Regions from separate parts of the Homo sapiens genome. Here region 2 is linked to region 1. Evidence: promoter capture Hi-C in human tissues and cell types (Jung and others, 2019). All regions are on one chromosome and are shown on one strand. The core of a region is centred on a gene start or on the middle of the fragment in contact, and the rest is flanking DNA. Distances in the headings are between cores, read along the strand shown.

What was found. Contacts are between HindIII fragments. The study calls those that stand out against the background at their distance.
Region 2: a fragment that was not itself captured here is called in contact with the fragment with the promoter of MRPL3 in region 1 in 1 of the 25 tissues and cell types used here (psoas muscle).

Annotation. Positions count from the first base shown.
Region 1 is chr3:131,501,721-131,509,526 of GRCh38, reverse strand. MRPL3 (mitochondrial ribosomal protein L3) reads left to right here and starts at 6,556. Exons shown (of 10, transcript NM_007208.4): 1 at 6,556-6,797. The coding sequence starts at 6,706. LOC105374114 (a long non-coding RNA gene) reads right to left here and starts at 6,928. Exons shown (of 3, transcript NR_189111.1): 1 at 6,823-6,928. RefSeq lists enhancers at 6,658-6,727, 6,234-6,920. The HindIII fragment of the contact is 5,057 bases long and covers 3,057-7,806 here.
Region 2 is chr3:131,535,815-131,543,620 of GRCh38, reverse strand. CPNE4 (copine 4) reads left to right here. Exons shown (of 16, transcript NM_130808.3): 15 at 828-1,064. Among named protein-coding and RNA genes, the nearest start is that of MRPL3, 37 kb to the right of the region's middle. The HindIII fragment of the contact is 6,018 bases long and covers 1-5,881 here.

The sequences.
Region 1 (7,806 bases), core at 5,307-7,806:
CCATTGTGATTTTTTCCTGCCCCACCCTAACTGATACGATATAACCTCCCCTCCCCACCCTTAAGAAGGTACTTTGTAATATTCTCCCCTCCCCCCTTAAGATGGTACTTTGTAATATTCTCCCCTGCTCTTAAGAATGTACTTTGTACGCCTATCCCAAACCTATAAGAACTAATGATAATCCCACCACCCTTTGCTGACTCCTTTTTCGGACTCAGCCTGCCTGCATCCAAGTGAAATAAACAGCGTTGTTGCTCACACAAAGCCTGTTTGGTGGACTGTCTTCACACGGACGCGTGTGACATTCTGTTTACCCTGATGATGATTTCTTTTTCTGTACAGAAGCTTTTTAGCTAAATTAGGTCCCATTTATTTATTTTTATTTTTATTGCATTTGCTTTTGGGGTCTTACTCATACTAATAATGATTTTTTTAGACCTCCAAAGGAAACTAGAAAATAGAATACTGGCTGGGTGTGATGGCTCATGCCTGTAATCCTAGCACTTTGGGAGGCTAAAGCAGGAGGATTGCATGAGGCCAGGAGTTTCAGTCCAGCCTGGACAACACAGCAAGACCCTGTCTCTACAAAAAAATGAAAAATTTAGCCAGGCATGGTGGCACTCACCTGTAGTCCTAGCTACTCAGAAGGCAGGCAGGAGGATCGCTTAAGCCCACAAGTTTGAGGCTGCAGTGAGCCATATCATGCTACTGCACTCCAGCCTAGGTGACAGAGCAAGACCCCATCTCTAAAAAAAAAAAAAAAAAAGGTAAGCAAAACTAAATAAAGAAAATAGAACAGTTTCTCTTAAAATCTTGATGTTATATCTCAAAATATTCCAAAATCAAATTCTGTTTGCTATATGAGTTACCAGCATTTTGAACTTCGGGCTTAATTGTCTATAATAGTCTTCCATTTCTGCTATAACAAAGTACCCAAAGCTAAATGGCTTAAACAACACAAATTTGTTATTTGACAATTCTAGGGGTCAAAAGTTTGACACAAGTCTCACTGGGCTACTATGAAGGTGGCTGCAGGGTTGCATTCTATTCTGGAGCTCCTACAGGAGAATATAGTTCCTTGCCTTTTCTAGCTTCTAGAGGTCACTGCATTCCTTGGCTTGTGGACCCCTTCTTCCATCTTCCAGGTAAACACTGTTAGGTTGATTCTTTTTACATTGCATTTATCTTACCCTTCCTCCATTGTTACATTTCTCACCACAGCCAGAAATGTTCTCAGATTTTAAGGATTCATGTAATTACATTGGGCCCACCCAGATAATCTAGTATAATCTCCACATCTCAAGGTTCAAAACTCTAATTACATCTGCAAAGTCCCTTTTGTCACGTAATAAAGGACATTTACAGATTTCAAGAATTAGGACGTAAACATTTAGAATAATGTGACTATTGTGGCTGGGCGCAGTGGCTCACACCTGTAATCCCAGCACTTTAGGAGGCTGAGGCAGGTGGATCACGAGGTCAAGAGATCAAGAACATCTTGGCCAACATGGTGAAACCTGTCTCTACTTAAAAAAAAAAAAAATACAAAAATTAGCCGGGCATGGTGGCGGGCCCCTGTAAACTCAGCTACTTGGTATGCTGAGGCGGACAATTGCTTGAACCCAGGAGGCAGAGGTTGCAGTGAGCCTTGATCACGCCACTGCACTCCAGCCTGGTGACAGAGTGAGACTCTGCACTCCAGCCTGGTGACAGAGCGAGACTCCATCTTTACAAAAAAGAAAAAAAAAAAAGAAAGAATAATATAACTACTGTTTTCTACCTTCCAGAAGGACTTTCACTTAGAAGACTAGAAGGGACCTCAGCTGGACAGATGAACAGGCAGAGAGGTGAAGTGATTTACTCTGTGTCGCACTGCTAGTTAAGTTTAGACCTGAGATTGAATCCCAAGTCTCTTGGCTCTGAGTTCACAGCCATTTTTAGAATGCTGCTACCCAAAATGTGGTCAGCACTGACATCATCTTGAGCTTCTTAGAAATGCAGACTCTCAGATCCCACCCTAGACCTAATGAATCAGGTTCCGCATTTTAGCAAGATTCCCAGGTAAATCTTGTACACATTCAGGGTTGAGAATCACAGGCTTTCAACATCACGTGGGCTCTGAAAAGCCTCCAATGAGGTTGCATAGGAATTGAATGGGTGAATATCTCAAGCAGTTCGGCCTCATCATTCTCTCTTGAGACCGACGGATTCTGATCTAGACTGATGAGACGCCTAAAGATGCAGGCTTAGCACTATCATCATCAATCTTTGTTGGTCTGGGGCATCCTCTGGATGCTGAGCTGAGTGTTCCAATAATGTGCTATGCAGCTTTCTCTTCTAAGGACAGAGGCAGTACAGCAGATCAGTTAAGCACTTGGACTCTAGACAGCCTGCCTGGCCTCAACTCCTGTCTCCACCACTTACTTAACAAATGTAAAGTTTGTGCACTTGAATGACCTGCTCATCGTCTCTGTGCCTCAGTTTCCATATTTGTAAAATGGGGTTGAGACTAACAGTACCCACTTCACAGGTGAGGATTAAATAAGTTAATATATGGAAAGCACATAGATCAGTGTCTGCCACTTAGCAAAAGCAATGCAAATGTTAGTTATTTATCATTTTTCAGGGAATCCCTAGGCCTCCTCTAAGTGGAATCAAAATCCTAAATGAACTCAGTCTTTAGAATTTCTCCAGATTCTGTATCTGTAAGGCTCAGAGGGGTAATCCTGATTATGATTCTAGGTGGCTAGAGTATCCACTGGTTTGGAGCTATACTCTGGCCATCAAAACTACACTGGCATTGGGAGGAAGACCAGGGAGGAAGAGATGTCCTTTTGAAAAGCATTGGTTCCCTGGCATGTGATGCTACATTGTCTGTTGCTAATATTTTTTCTAAGTAATCAAAGAACTTTAAAAAATGGACATTGGTATAATTACATTAAGTTTTGAAACCTTAAACCCAGATTACTACATGGCCATACTGCTTTTTTCTATTTTTTTAAGGCTTTCTTCAAGCCAAATGAATTTTAATTCTGATCATCTCTTGGAACCCTAAAGTCTGTGGGCTTACTTGGGAATTTACAAATAAAAATTATGTTTTAAAAGCAATATATTAAAGTTACAAATTGTGATTTGGCCTTACTGAAGGACATTGAAGCAGAATTCATTCTCTTACTGAATGAGTATCTGTGGATTTTGCAATACAGCCTTTCAAATTTTCTATTTCAGCCAGCAATGAAATCTTAAAGTTCAAAAATCTCTTAAAGTTTATTTTATCTATATCCCCATTGAATGCTTGACTCACTTTCATAACATCTTTACTGATTTTAAAATATGCTAGATTCTCACAACTTGAGAAAAATGGAGAAAAAAAAGGATAACTTAGTAAATCCAAACTCATTGTTTAAAAGATTTCTAATTTCAAATATAAGGTATGTTATAAACTAAGAGACAGCATAAATGAATACTAAAGTGGAAATTACCCAACACAAAATTTACCATCTTGCAATAATCCAACTATACAGGATATATCACAAACATTATAAGAGCTAATGGTAGAGCCTAATGGCAGGAACACATATAAAAGATTATTTCCAGTGAACTCTTGCTTTGAAATCTGCTCCTTCTATGATGATTCTCTTGTATTGAACATGGCTTTAGTAATTCAAAAATGAATCTATTCCTAATGTTTTATTTAATAAGAGAAGGTTTATGAGATCATCTGTTGGTCTGAATTAGCGGAGTAAGAGTTATAGAACTGTACCACTAAAAAGAGAAAGTGCAAGTTATCTTCGTTCCAATAAGGAATTGAAATCTTAGAGAGGCAAAATGGCATTACAGTTTCAGGGTCTAAGGCAGTGTCTGAAGGATGACATCAGAAATAACAGGAAGCTCTAGGTCAGTGCCTGACTGCCCTAGAAAAGCCTAGGCTGGGTCCCTTGACAACTGGGCCTAGTAGCTGTCAGCAGCATATTACAGTGACTAAATCAAGTATGACACCACTCAGCCCTGGCTGGCAATCAGGAGACACATTTTTTACGACAGCAGACAAACCATGTTTTACTTTGATTCAGTTCAGCGGTGGTGCCTGCTGTCAAGGTCCTCCTTATGGACTAGGAGATATTTGGTACTATGGGAAAAGGTTAGACCAAATGGCTACCTCTTCAATCCTCACTGACCACTGCGTGTGATTACTTACCGATTTTCCTCTTTAGCCTTAAAGAAATTCCAAGGCAAGAGTAGTGACATATTTGTCATAGAGAGCCAAAGAAACAAAATGTCTAAAAGCATAAGCTCTATCTATGGTCACAGTCTTTGGCTCTACCAGTTAATAGCTGGGTGATTTTATTTAAGTTATGTAATCTCTGTATGCCTATTTTCTTAACTGTAAGATCCAGATAATTATACTATTGTCACAGCAGATTGTCATAACAATCAAGTGAGAAAATACACTGAGAGAGTAAAAATGAATACTATTAGTAACTGGACTGCAGTGTTTATAGCAGAACATCAATACAATATTTCTTTTTTTTTTTTTTGAGACGGAGTCTTGCTCTGTCACCCAGGCTGGAGTGCAGTGGCTCAATCTCGCTCACTGCAAGCTGCGCCTCCCAGGTTCACACCATTCTCCTGCCTCAGCCTCCTGAGTAGCTGGGACTACAGGCACCCGCCACTACGCCCGGCTAATTTTTTTTTGTATTTTTAGTAGAGAAGGGGTTTCACCATGTCAGCCAGGATGGTCTCAATCTCCTGACCTCGTGATCCACCCGCCTTGGCATCCCAAAGTGCTGAGCCACCACGCCCAGCCCATCATTACAATATTTCTTACAGACCGTACTGTAGGCCACACCACTGCAGCAAAATGACTAACAGTTCCTTATTCTGAGTGATTCCTGCTTTCTTATGAACATCATGCCCACTTCCTCTCTGTTCTTCCTGTCTCTAGAACAAAGACTATCAAGATATCCAATTGCTGAACTGTCCTTTCTTCTTGACAGCACCCATTCTAAAACAAGTTCCTGCTTCTCTGATGCCACTTTAAAATCACTCAGCCTTAAGTCCAAATTTCATTTCAAGCCCCTCCCAGGTCACTCTTTTGGAAACATCCTCAGACATATGCTGTCTTTTGCTGCATCAAGCTAATTAAACTTGACTTTGTATGAGTTCACGTTTTCTTCTAGTAGCCTTGGCTTATGGGCTTCCACAATGCTGAGCACATACTCTAGCACACTATATGGATAAGAAATGTTAGTTATTGGCAGTAGTACAGAAATCTTCTTATTCTCAACTTCTTGCATGTAGCACACCTCAAAACATGTTTGTTCAATGAAGAGCCATCCTTAAGTATCTGGGAAGCCAGGCAGCATGGCTAGAATGAAGAGATGTAGTTTTTCCTTCAAGGTCCAAAGTATTATTGAAAAGTGTCTAAGGTAACTGCAACAGCAATGAGTGGAATGAATGGACAAGCAAAGCAAAGATTTTTTAGCCCACTAAAGTCCAAGTAATGGCCAGGAATTGACCATTGTCTGGACCTGTTAAACCAAGATAGCCAGATCTCTAGTAAAAAGAGAAGGTTGAAATAGCTACACTTTAAAGTTCTTATTTCCAAATTTCTACAAACAGTAATCTGACAAATAAGGGAATTAGTAGAAGAATAAATGTCCTAGTCACATACATGGTTATTAGGCTAGATCTGGAACCCAAGACAGGGGATTTTTTGTGCAGGTGTATTAGCTATCTATTATTGCATAACAAATTACCCTAAAGCTTAATGACTCAAAAAAACGGTAATCATTTATTTTCTCTGGCAATTTCTCCTAGTCAGTAATTCATGAGCGGCCTGGCTGGGAGATTCAGGCTTAACGTCTCCATGAGTTGCAGCCGAGGACTGGTGGATCCACTTCCTAGGTGGCTCAGTCATGACTGGCTAGTTGATTCCTCTTTATATGTTCCTCCCTGCAGAGCTGTTTGAGTGTCTGCAGGAAATGAAGGCTAGCTTTCTCCACAGGGAGCAATCCAAGAGACAAAAACTGAAGTAACAATATGTTTTATGATCCAGCCCTAGAAGGCATACATCATTTCTATGGGTGTAGTCTATTGATAACACATGCCAACCCTGTTTCAGTGCCAACTCTGCTCCTCTGCCAGATGTGTTGTTTTGGACCAGCACCTAAATTCTGAGTCAGTTTCCTCATTTATAATAGAAAAATAAATACTTCCTTTCAGGACCGTTTTTTATGATTAACAAATATAGGATTATGAAGCGCTGCTTAGCATAATGCATTGCCTCACAACGGGCACTATTTAGAAGTGTCTTCATTTTCCTTAGCGTCCTCAGGAAGTCTGTCCTTATTCTTCTAAAGTTTAAACTCTGAACATCCCTTTTATTTTACCCCTGGAGAGGCGAGTCAGTCCCTTCCCACCCCTACCTACTCCAACTCACATCCAAAGTAGGACAACGGTGGAAGCAGAACTATAGTTTCCGGGGAGCGACTCGAGTGCCCGGAGTTCATTGTAAAACGCACCGGAAGTGGGTCCGGCGGCTTTCTTTCCGTCGCAGAGAGCATCGGCCGGCGACCGTTCCGGCGGCCATTGCGAAAACTTCCCCACGGCTACTGCGTCCACGTGGCGGTGGCGTGGGGACTCCCTGAAAGCAGAGCGGCAGGGCGCCCGGAAGTCGTGAGTCGAGTCTTCCCGGGCTAATCCATGCCGGGTTGGAGGCTGCTGACGCAGGTCGGCGCCCAGGTGCTGGGTCGACTCGGGGACGGCCTGGGTGCTGCCCTGGGCCCGGGGAACAGGTAGGAAGGTGTGAGGGTGTCCTACCTGCACAGTTGCGTCCTGAAGCAGTGGAATGGCCTGGTGCAGTTGGGCCTCCCCTGGGTGGAGGAGGAAGGGGCTCTGTTGAGACGTGGGACACAGAAGAATAAGGGCCGTTAACCTAAGGAAGCACGTTCTAAGGGGATTGAAGTGGTGATTTTTAAAAAACGCTTATGAGCCAGCCACTAGCAGCGAACGCTATTAACAGCAATCATATCTTACAATTAGTGAGCGTTTGCCAGGTACTAAGCGCTCTGCTAAGTGTATTAGGTGCCTTATGTAGCCTCACGGGAGCAAACTGCTATCATAAGGTTTACAGATAAAACTGAAGGTTAGGGAGGTGAGTTAATTTGCCCAAAGTCACTCAACTAATAAGTGGAAAATTAGGAATCTAGCCTGAATTTATCTGACTACAAAAGGAGAGTAGACTGCAGAAAGCTTTACTTCTGTTCTGACCCTCCATGCAAGAATTACACCCCTTCTTCCTGACCTCCGCCCACTAAGGTCTTTCTTGGTATGTTCACCTGTTCAGAGGTCATGCCTTTTGTGGATCTTTTAACTTTGCACACCCAGTTTCTTCACTTCTCTGAACCTAGGCCATGTCATTGCAGGGAGGAGGTGAGCTTGTTAGACAAAGATCAACATGCCACCTTCTGCCACCTCCACTGAATGTAAAACTATTAAGGTACACTTCCAAATGGGTTAGTGGCTTTTCATGTCTATAGGTAGGACTGTTTTTTGGGGAATATGTTTATCTGCGAGGAGAAGATGAATTTTTTTCTCCAGGGTAACGACTAACAGTTTAAATGTGAGCCTTATCCGAAGGAATGTGGGGAGTGAGGAAAAGGTTGGAGACCTGAAAAAAAGGTATACAGAATCCAAGCCCTTTCCCAAGGCCCTGACTACACTTTCCAATTTGTGACTTCCCTTTTCTATATTAAGTGGAGGAAGTTTTTAAATTGTGGTTTGGTTTTATTTATTTTTTCTTTT
Region 2 (7,806 bases), core at 1,623-4,122, 38 kb before region 1:
TATTGTCATTTTAGCATGTACTCCATATAAAAAAATTATTAATGAAATAATTTGCATTCTATTTTGTATAATAAGTCTTCAAAATCCACATGTATTTTATACTTACAGCATGTCAATTTGGATGCTAAGTTATCATAAATACTTGATCTTTGTTTAGATTTTATAGTTACAGCTTAATTTTAATAACTACCTCACTGACAGTTACAAAGAAAGAAAAAGTAGATTAATCTACTGAAGTTGTTCCAAACATACTTAAAATGTTTCTAATAACTGAATTGGCTATCCAATTTTAATGTTAAATTTAAATTCATTACAATTAAATAAAATATAAAATTCAGTTCGTCACTTGCTCTAGCCACATTTCAAGGGCTGAGTAGTCTCATGGGGTTAGTCATCATTGTATTGGATGTCATAGCTTTAGATTTTTAAATATCTTCAAGTAAAGAAGATCATATAAATTATTGGGTCCCACCCCTCATTTGAGAAATGAAGAAGCTCAGACACAGACGAGTTAAGGGATCGTCCCAGGGTCTCACAGAATGAGGCTTTGAAGCCTGTCCTCCTAACTCTTGGCCTGCTGCTCTTTCTTTGTAACTGTCAGTGAGGTAGTTATTATAATTAAGCTATAATTGCCATGCCTACCTTTAAGCTCCATTCATCAGAACCCTAAGCCTTTAGGACTATCAGCACATTCAAAAAATGTCTGTCATCACTGTTGCTTTGGTCAATGTGCAGTGAGGCCACCTGGGTGTCTAACTGGTATTGTATTGTCCTTGTCTCCCTCACCTCTTCACCCCCCCCCATCATCATGGGGCATCTGACTGCAGCAATACTTCATCCTGCTGATCCTGACAGATGGTGTTATCACAGACATGGCCGACACCCGGGAGGCCATTGTCCATGCCTCCCACCTCCCCATGTCAGTCATCATCGTGGGAGTAGGGAACGCTGACTTCAGTGACATGCAGATGCTGGACGGTGATGATGGGATTCTGAGGTCACCCAAGGGAGAGCCTGTTCTTCGAGACATCGTCCAGTTCGTGCCCTTCAGGAACTTCAAACACGTATGCATATACACATTGGGGCACTTTTCATGGAAGAGCAGAACCAAAGCATGCTCACCTCCCACATTTGTCCACCAATGTTTATGGTGATCCACCATTCTTGAAGCAACACCAGCTATGCTCTACATACCCTTGCTGTGGGAGATGACCTGGCTTAGCTATCCCTTCCTGGGCCACGTCATCTCCCACAACAAGGATATATAGAGCATGACTCTTTGGAGAAAAAAATTATAAATTGAGTTACAGATCAGGAGCCATGCTAACTATTGTAGGCAAAATTTCACTGATGCTTGCCCTATAATTCATATAATTTAGGATCTCTAGTGCATCTAGGACTGCCTACAGATGGGCAGCTTGTTCCCTGCCTAAAGGTGCCTGCCCAAAGTACCAAGCAGAAACTGAAATGCAGCTTATGTTTTGCTTGTCAAGCTATGTGGCCTGGCAGAAGTCTGTGTTTGCCTTGGCAAAGTATATTTCCAAAATGATAGAAACCTAAATCCTCTATAAAAAATATAGTAAGCAGCATCAAAAATTTATTTAACTCCTTCAAAACAAGATGATAAAGTTAGTTCAAAAGAGTATATAAGGCTGGGTGCAGTGGCTCACCCCTGTAATCCCAGCAGTTTGGGAGGCCAAGGTGGGTGTATCGCCTGAGGTCAGGAGTTTGAGACCAGCCTGACCAACATGGTAAAACTCCATCTCTACTAAAAATACAAAAATTAGCTGGGCGTGGTGGCAGGCGCCTGTAATCCCAGCTACTCGGGAGGCTGAGGCAGGAGAATCACTTGAATCAGGGAGGTGGAGGTTGCAGTGAGCCGAGATCACACCACTGCACTCCAGCCTGGGTGATGAGAGTGAGAGTTGGTTTCAAAAAAAGTAAATAAATAAGACAGTTAAAGTCAGTGGGAAAAAATGCTGAATAAGTTTGCTAAGGTAGATTGAAAACTGATTAATGACCAAGAGGGTAAAAAAAAAAAAAAAAAGTAATCTTTGAATTGCCCTCTCTGTGGGCCAGAAATCGCCTGCTATCAGTTTTCTATAAATTAATACCTAACTTTACAGTCTTGGGCTCTTACCAGTAAGAAATAGTAAGTCAGTCAAGCAGCATTGCATTCCCCAAGGGCCTTGAGGCAGAACCATTAGACAATGCTCTAGTATGACATAGAAAAAATGCTCAGTAACAATTTTCCCACCTTCCCAGGTTTTGATACATTGTGTCCATGGAGGAAGGAGCATTTTTTAAATTTCCACAAATCCCTGCACCTACTGAGCTGTAATCACCCAGAAGGACATCTTGAATTCATAAAAGCCTCCCTTGGGGCTAATGGTAGTCCTGAAGACCCCTCTAGAGTATCCTAGCTGTGTCTAGGCACCTGTGGGGGTAACTTGGGTATTACTGGATAGCCTTTGTGTTTTTTGTTTTGTGCTTCTTGTGAAAGCCACCCAAGAGGAGAGCATATGCCCAGCCCCTACTTTCCACTGAGGCCTTGCCCTCTGCACTGCTGCAGATGCCAACAATACCATCCCCAGGGCTGGTGACTAAACTTGAGCTGCCCTGGCAACAGGGAATCTTCAGAACCTTCAGTACCGTGAAGCTTATCTGTGGTCTCCTTGGAAAAGAAGAGAATCCTCTCCTTTCCATGCTACCGAGTCCCCTCTGTCACCTGAGTCATTAATGCAGTGAGATGTGTCTCCACATCTCAAAGACCCCTGCTGGAAAGTATCTTCATTAACTTCCACTGCAGTCCCTCCCTGCATAGGGCTCAAATCAGTTATTTGGGTCAGGCAGGATGCCATCCCCTCCACTTCAACCTTATTTGGTAAAGCCTTTCTCCTCCAGTCAAAAACTCATTCAAATGAATCCCTGACATTCTTCATACTGAGTTTATCAGATATATCCAGACACATCTGACTCCCAACTTGGGTTCACACTGGACTCTCACCTATACTGTGTAAGGAAATTGCAGATGAGAGGTGGAAAGCTAAATGGATCATCAAAACAATGATCCATCCATCCTCCCACCCCCATACATACTTGACTGTAATCCTGGTACCAGTCCTAGTGTGAGAGCCTTTAGCATATGCTCTTCAGAAATTGCTGTTTGTTGTGCCACTTTCTTTGGACAGGCTTTAAAATAAGAATTCAGATAGATCACCAGCTCAGCAGCCTCAGCTGAACTCTGTATTTCATGACCTGCCCAGACTTCATAGGGAAGTAACTGCACATTCCAAGGCTCCTTGGATGATGAGGTATTGTTCATAACTGTACTGCCACACAATTACTACTCTACTTTTAAGGAGGGCTGCAGTGTAATTAAAATCACTGAAGGAGCAGAAAACCAATCCCTGGCTACAGAGTTGATCACAGAGAGAGTTTCTAAGTAACAGCAACAGCAGTCAATCTTCCCACAAGCTCCCAGGGCTGTGCATGTGGATGAGGGGTAATTGTGTTGTTATATGCCATCCTCAAGTTTCCCTAGGAAGAGATTTTCAAATAAAGGTACTCATTAATGAAAGAGATGCACTAAGCCCTAAAGTTGTCTGCCTATGGACAGCAAGGAGTAGAGTCAAAAAGAAGTAGTATTCTTTACAGACGGATGAGCTAGAGCAGGCTAAATTTGCTGCAATTATGTTCATTAATGAAGCTAGTTTCTCCCTAGGTGTCTAAGATGGAGGAAAGGGTGTTCTTCCTGATTTTAATGCTGCATTCTTTTCAGACAGACAAAATAGATAGACACATCACTGAATACCAGTGATAACTTTGCATAGTGCAGCAGGATCAAAGAGTTCACTCTCTAGGAGATTCATTAACTTCCCCAAATCACCCTCTCTCCCCTCTGCATCCCCCACCTCCCCACTTCCCCACACACACTTGTGTGCTGACACAATGTCACTGAACTATGAAAGGTTCTAACCTCTACCCTCAAGTCTCCTCCTCTTCCCCAAAACACTTACAGAATGCTTGTTCTGTGCAAGGCACATGCTAGTCACTAGGACCACAATGAAATGATAGAACCATGGATCCACACCTCAAGACATTTACTGGAGAATTGCATGACTGGGAGAAAGGTATTAGCAGAAAAATCACATGCTAAGCAACCTGTGGGTGGTTGAGAAGAATTAAAATGTTGTTACAGGACCTCAAAGCAGAGAGAGGTAGCCATGGGAAAAGGCTTACAGCTTAAGTTAAGTGTTTGAGGAAAGACAGAGCCTTGGAGAGCAGGGAATTTTGGGGACATTGTCAACAAGAGGAATGCTCAGGGCAGAGCAAGGAAGTAGGGTGCTGCTCACAGTCTCTGTGCTACACAGATTCTCTGGCTGCTCTGTGAATGACCAAGGAAGAACACCAGGCGCATACTCACCCATCTTATCTTCATGGATTTCAAATCAGATTTTGAAATCCATTTCATTACCCAAACTAATCTACTTTGAATTCAATAAGCCATAAATAAAAGGGAAGGTAGCAGCTTAAATCATTTTATGTAAGCCATTAACTCATGAATTGCCTCTCTTTTTCTGCTCTGCATGATAACTCAGAGCTTTAGAGCTTACAGGGCACAAGTTATGTTATGGTCTTTTTTCCTGCTCATATAACAGAATATCATAGACTGGATAAAGAACAGAAGTGTATTTGGCTCATGGTTTTGGAGTCTGGGAAGTCCAAGAGCATAGCACCAGCACCTACAAGGGTCATCTCATGGCAGAAGTATGGAAGGCACAAGCAAACATGTAAGACACAAGGAGAAGGAAAGCACAAGGGGCAGACTCTCTTTTATAACAACCCACTCTCATGATAACTAACCTGCTCCCATGATACTGACATCTTATGAGGCCCCACTTCCCAACCCTGTTGCATTGATCATTAAGTTCCCAGCACATTAATTTAGGAGACACACTCAAACTATCATATGCTTTAAGCTTTGTGACTCTGGGCAAGTTATTTAACCTTTCCATGCCACAGACTTTCATCTATAAAATGAGGTAAATGATACATGCATTGCAAAGATAAGGTGTTGTCTATATAAAGCTTAAGATAGTGCCTGGTCCATGTAGGTGGTTAATAAATAAAGCTTTTATTACTGTTATTACCAGCTTCATTCATATTCTTGACCCTTTCCCACCCAATACATGTCCCCAAAGCCTTATTTGCTTGCCAGCACAGATATGCAAGGGGATGGGGGATCCTTTGGGAACAATGCTGTCCAATATGGTAGCCACTAACCACATGTAGCTACTTACGTTTAAATTCATTAAGAGAAAATAAAATTTCAAACTCAGTTCCTCAGTCAGACTTGCTTTATTTCAAGGACTCAATAGTTGCGTGAGACTAAGACCTCCCATACTGGACAGCACAGATATAGAATATTACCATCATCAGAGGAAGATCTATTTGACAGCCTGGTTTAGGAATATTTTTTGCTGCAAGCAACAGTAAATCCATCTTACAGGGATTACATAAATGGTTTTTAACCAAGGGTAACATTATGCCCCAGGAAACATTTTGGAATATCTGACATTTTTGATGGTAACAAATATGGGGCTTCTATTCATATCTAGTGGGTAGAGGCCAAGGATGCTGCTAAACTTCCTGCAGTGCACCGGACAGTCCCCCACACAAAGAATTATTCAGCCCCAAATGTCAATAGTGTCAAGATTGAGAAACCCTGGATTATACAAATAGAACGTATTTTTCTCATGTAGCTAGAAGTTAGGGGCTCATTGCTGCTGGAGTCAGTGATTCAATAGTGTCAGAGCCAGCACATTGTGATTCCCTTTGCTCTTCCTACATAATGATAAAATGGTTGCTATAGCTCCAGTAATCACATTCTATTTCAAGATAGAAAGGAAGAGGAAAGGGACATAGGGCCAACTGTGTCCAGAGCATGTTGGCTGAAGTCCCAAACTAAGTCCTGGACTATTACAATGGCAAAGGGATTAAACCAAAATGTTCATCAGAAATGTACAAGTCTTCAGGGCTGGGTGCGGTGGCTCACGCCTGTAATCTCAGGACTTTGAGATGCTGAGGCGGGCGGATCACCTGAGGTCAGGAGTTCGAGACCAGCCTGGCCAATATGGTAAAACCCCATGTCTACTAAAAATATAAAATTAGCTGGGCACGGTGGTGGGCACCTGTAATCTCAACTACTCTGGAGGCTGAAGCAGGAGAATTGCTTGAATCCGGGAAGCGGAGGTTACAGTGAGCTGAGATCGCACCACTGCACTCCAGCCTGGGTGACAGAGTGAGACTCCATCTCAAAAAAAAAAAAAAAAAACAGAAAAGAAAAAATGTACAAGTCTTCCAGAACACTAGCACCATGACCTCCACACACTTTTACAGAGTTCCGAAATACTACTCCTGCTAATATTTCATATTTAATACTTTTACTACTCCTGTACTTAAAAAAATACATACACCTTTAAAAATAGCACATTTTGGTGATTTTTAATTATCTGAAATTTTTTTTGCATGTGTAGCCCTGAGTCCAGAATCTGTTAAACTCTTGTATTGTTGAAGACTTTTCACAAGGGAAAAGTCTTTTAACTTTTAACCAGGAGAGAAAAGCTTTCCAAAAAACCTCCCCCAGGAAATTTTCACTTATATCTCAAAGGATGGAATTGGGTCATATTGTTATCCCTAGATGTAAAGGAAGCTGGAAAATCAAGGATTTGACTTTCTAACCTTTGTATGAGAAACAGCCAGGGAGGAAAGGGTATAAATGACTTTTGTATCTGCCCCAGTATACACATGGACCATGGTCTAACACACAACCCTGAGCAGTTATTTATAAAATAAAGGGATATCTGTAGATCACAAATGTCCATCATGCTATGACATCTTCAAAATGTGAAAGATCACTTGAGAAAAACTCTTTACAGTGTTTTCAGATTGCTTAAAAGATACATGTCTCTTATTTTGAGACTCTGTGAGATAGAGTGAATTATTTTTCTTTTCTCTTTTGCCTCTAAGAACAGCGGGGCTTAGTAAAGTTAAATGGCCAAGTGGCAAGCCACATAGAAAAGAAAAAACTGAAAACCAGGTCACATGGTATTCAGTCCAGCCCTCTTTCTTTTGGAATCTCAAACACTTGTTAAGTCTGCCTCAAGTTTTCAATCTCTTCAATAATAGTTAATAATGAGGCTCAGGCCATTGAAATTGCTTGCCCAGGGGTTGTACAGTTAATACTAAATGCCAGAGCCAGGAGTAAAGCCCAGCTCTACATGACTCCAGAGTCCATGTATGATATCAGCTTCAACCTTTCTCTGCTACAGAATCATCACCATAAATCACATGGTCCTCCTGTGCCCCTACCCCAAAATCATGCAGTAGATCCATAAGGCTGATAGAATAAAGGCTAAATGAATTAGTGTGGTATTCAAGACTCTCCATCACCTGGTCTCAAGCCAATTTTCCAACCAAATGCCCAACCAATCCTGCAACTACCCCTAAACCCCCTCGTCCCCCACCTGCCATACACACTTCCTTCAGCTCCATCAGGTAACTCACTATGCCTATGATGGTCAAATGCCATTCCCCTACCCCTTCTCTATGTATTAAAATATGCTCAGCTTAAAAGCCACCTCCTCTTAGAAGCCTCCAAGATAAGTTAGTCTCTATGTTTTTTATGCCCTGGCCTCACTGTTTGTGATTCTCTAGAGAAGAGCTTCTCAAATTTTAATATGCATATGAATCACTAGAGCGTCAAGTTAAAAGGCAGATTGTGATTCAGTAGCTCTGAGTTGG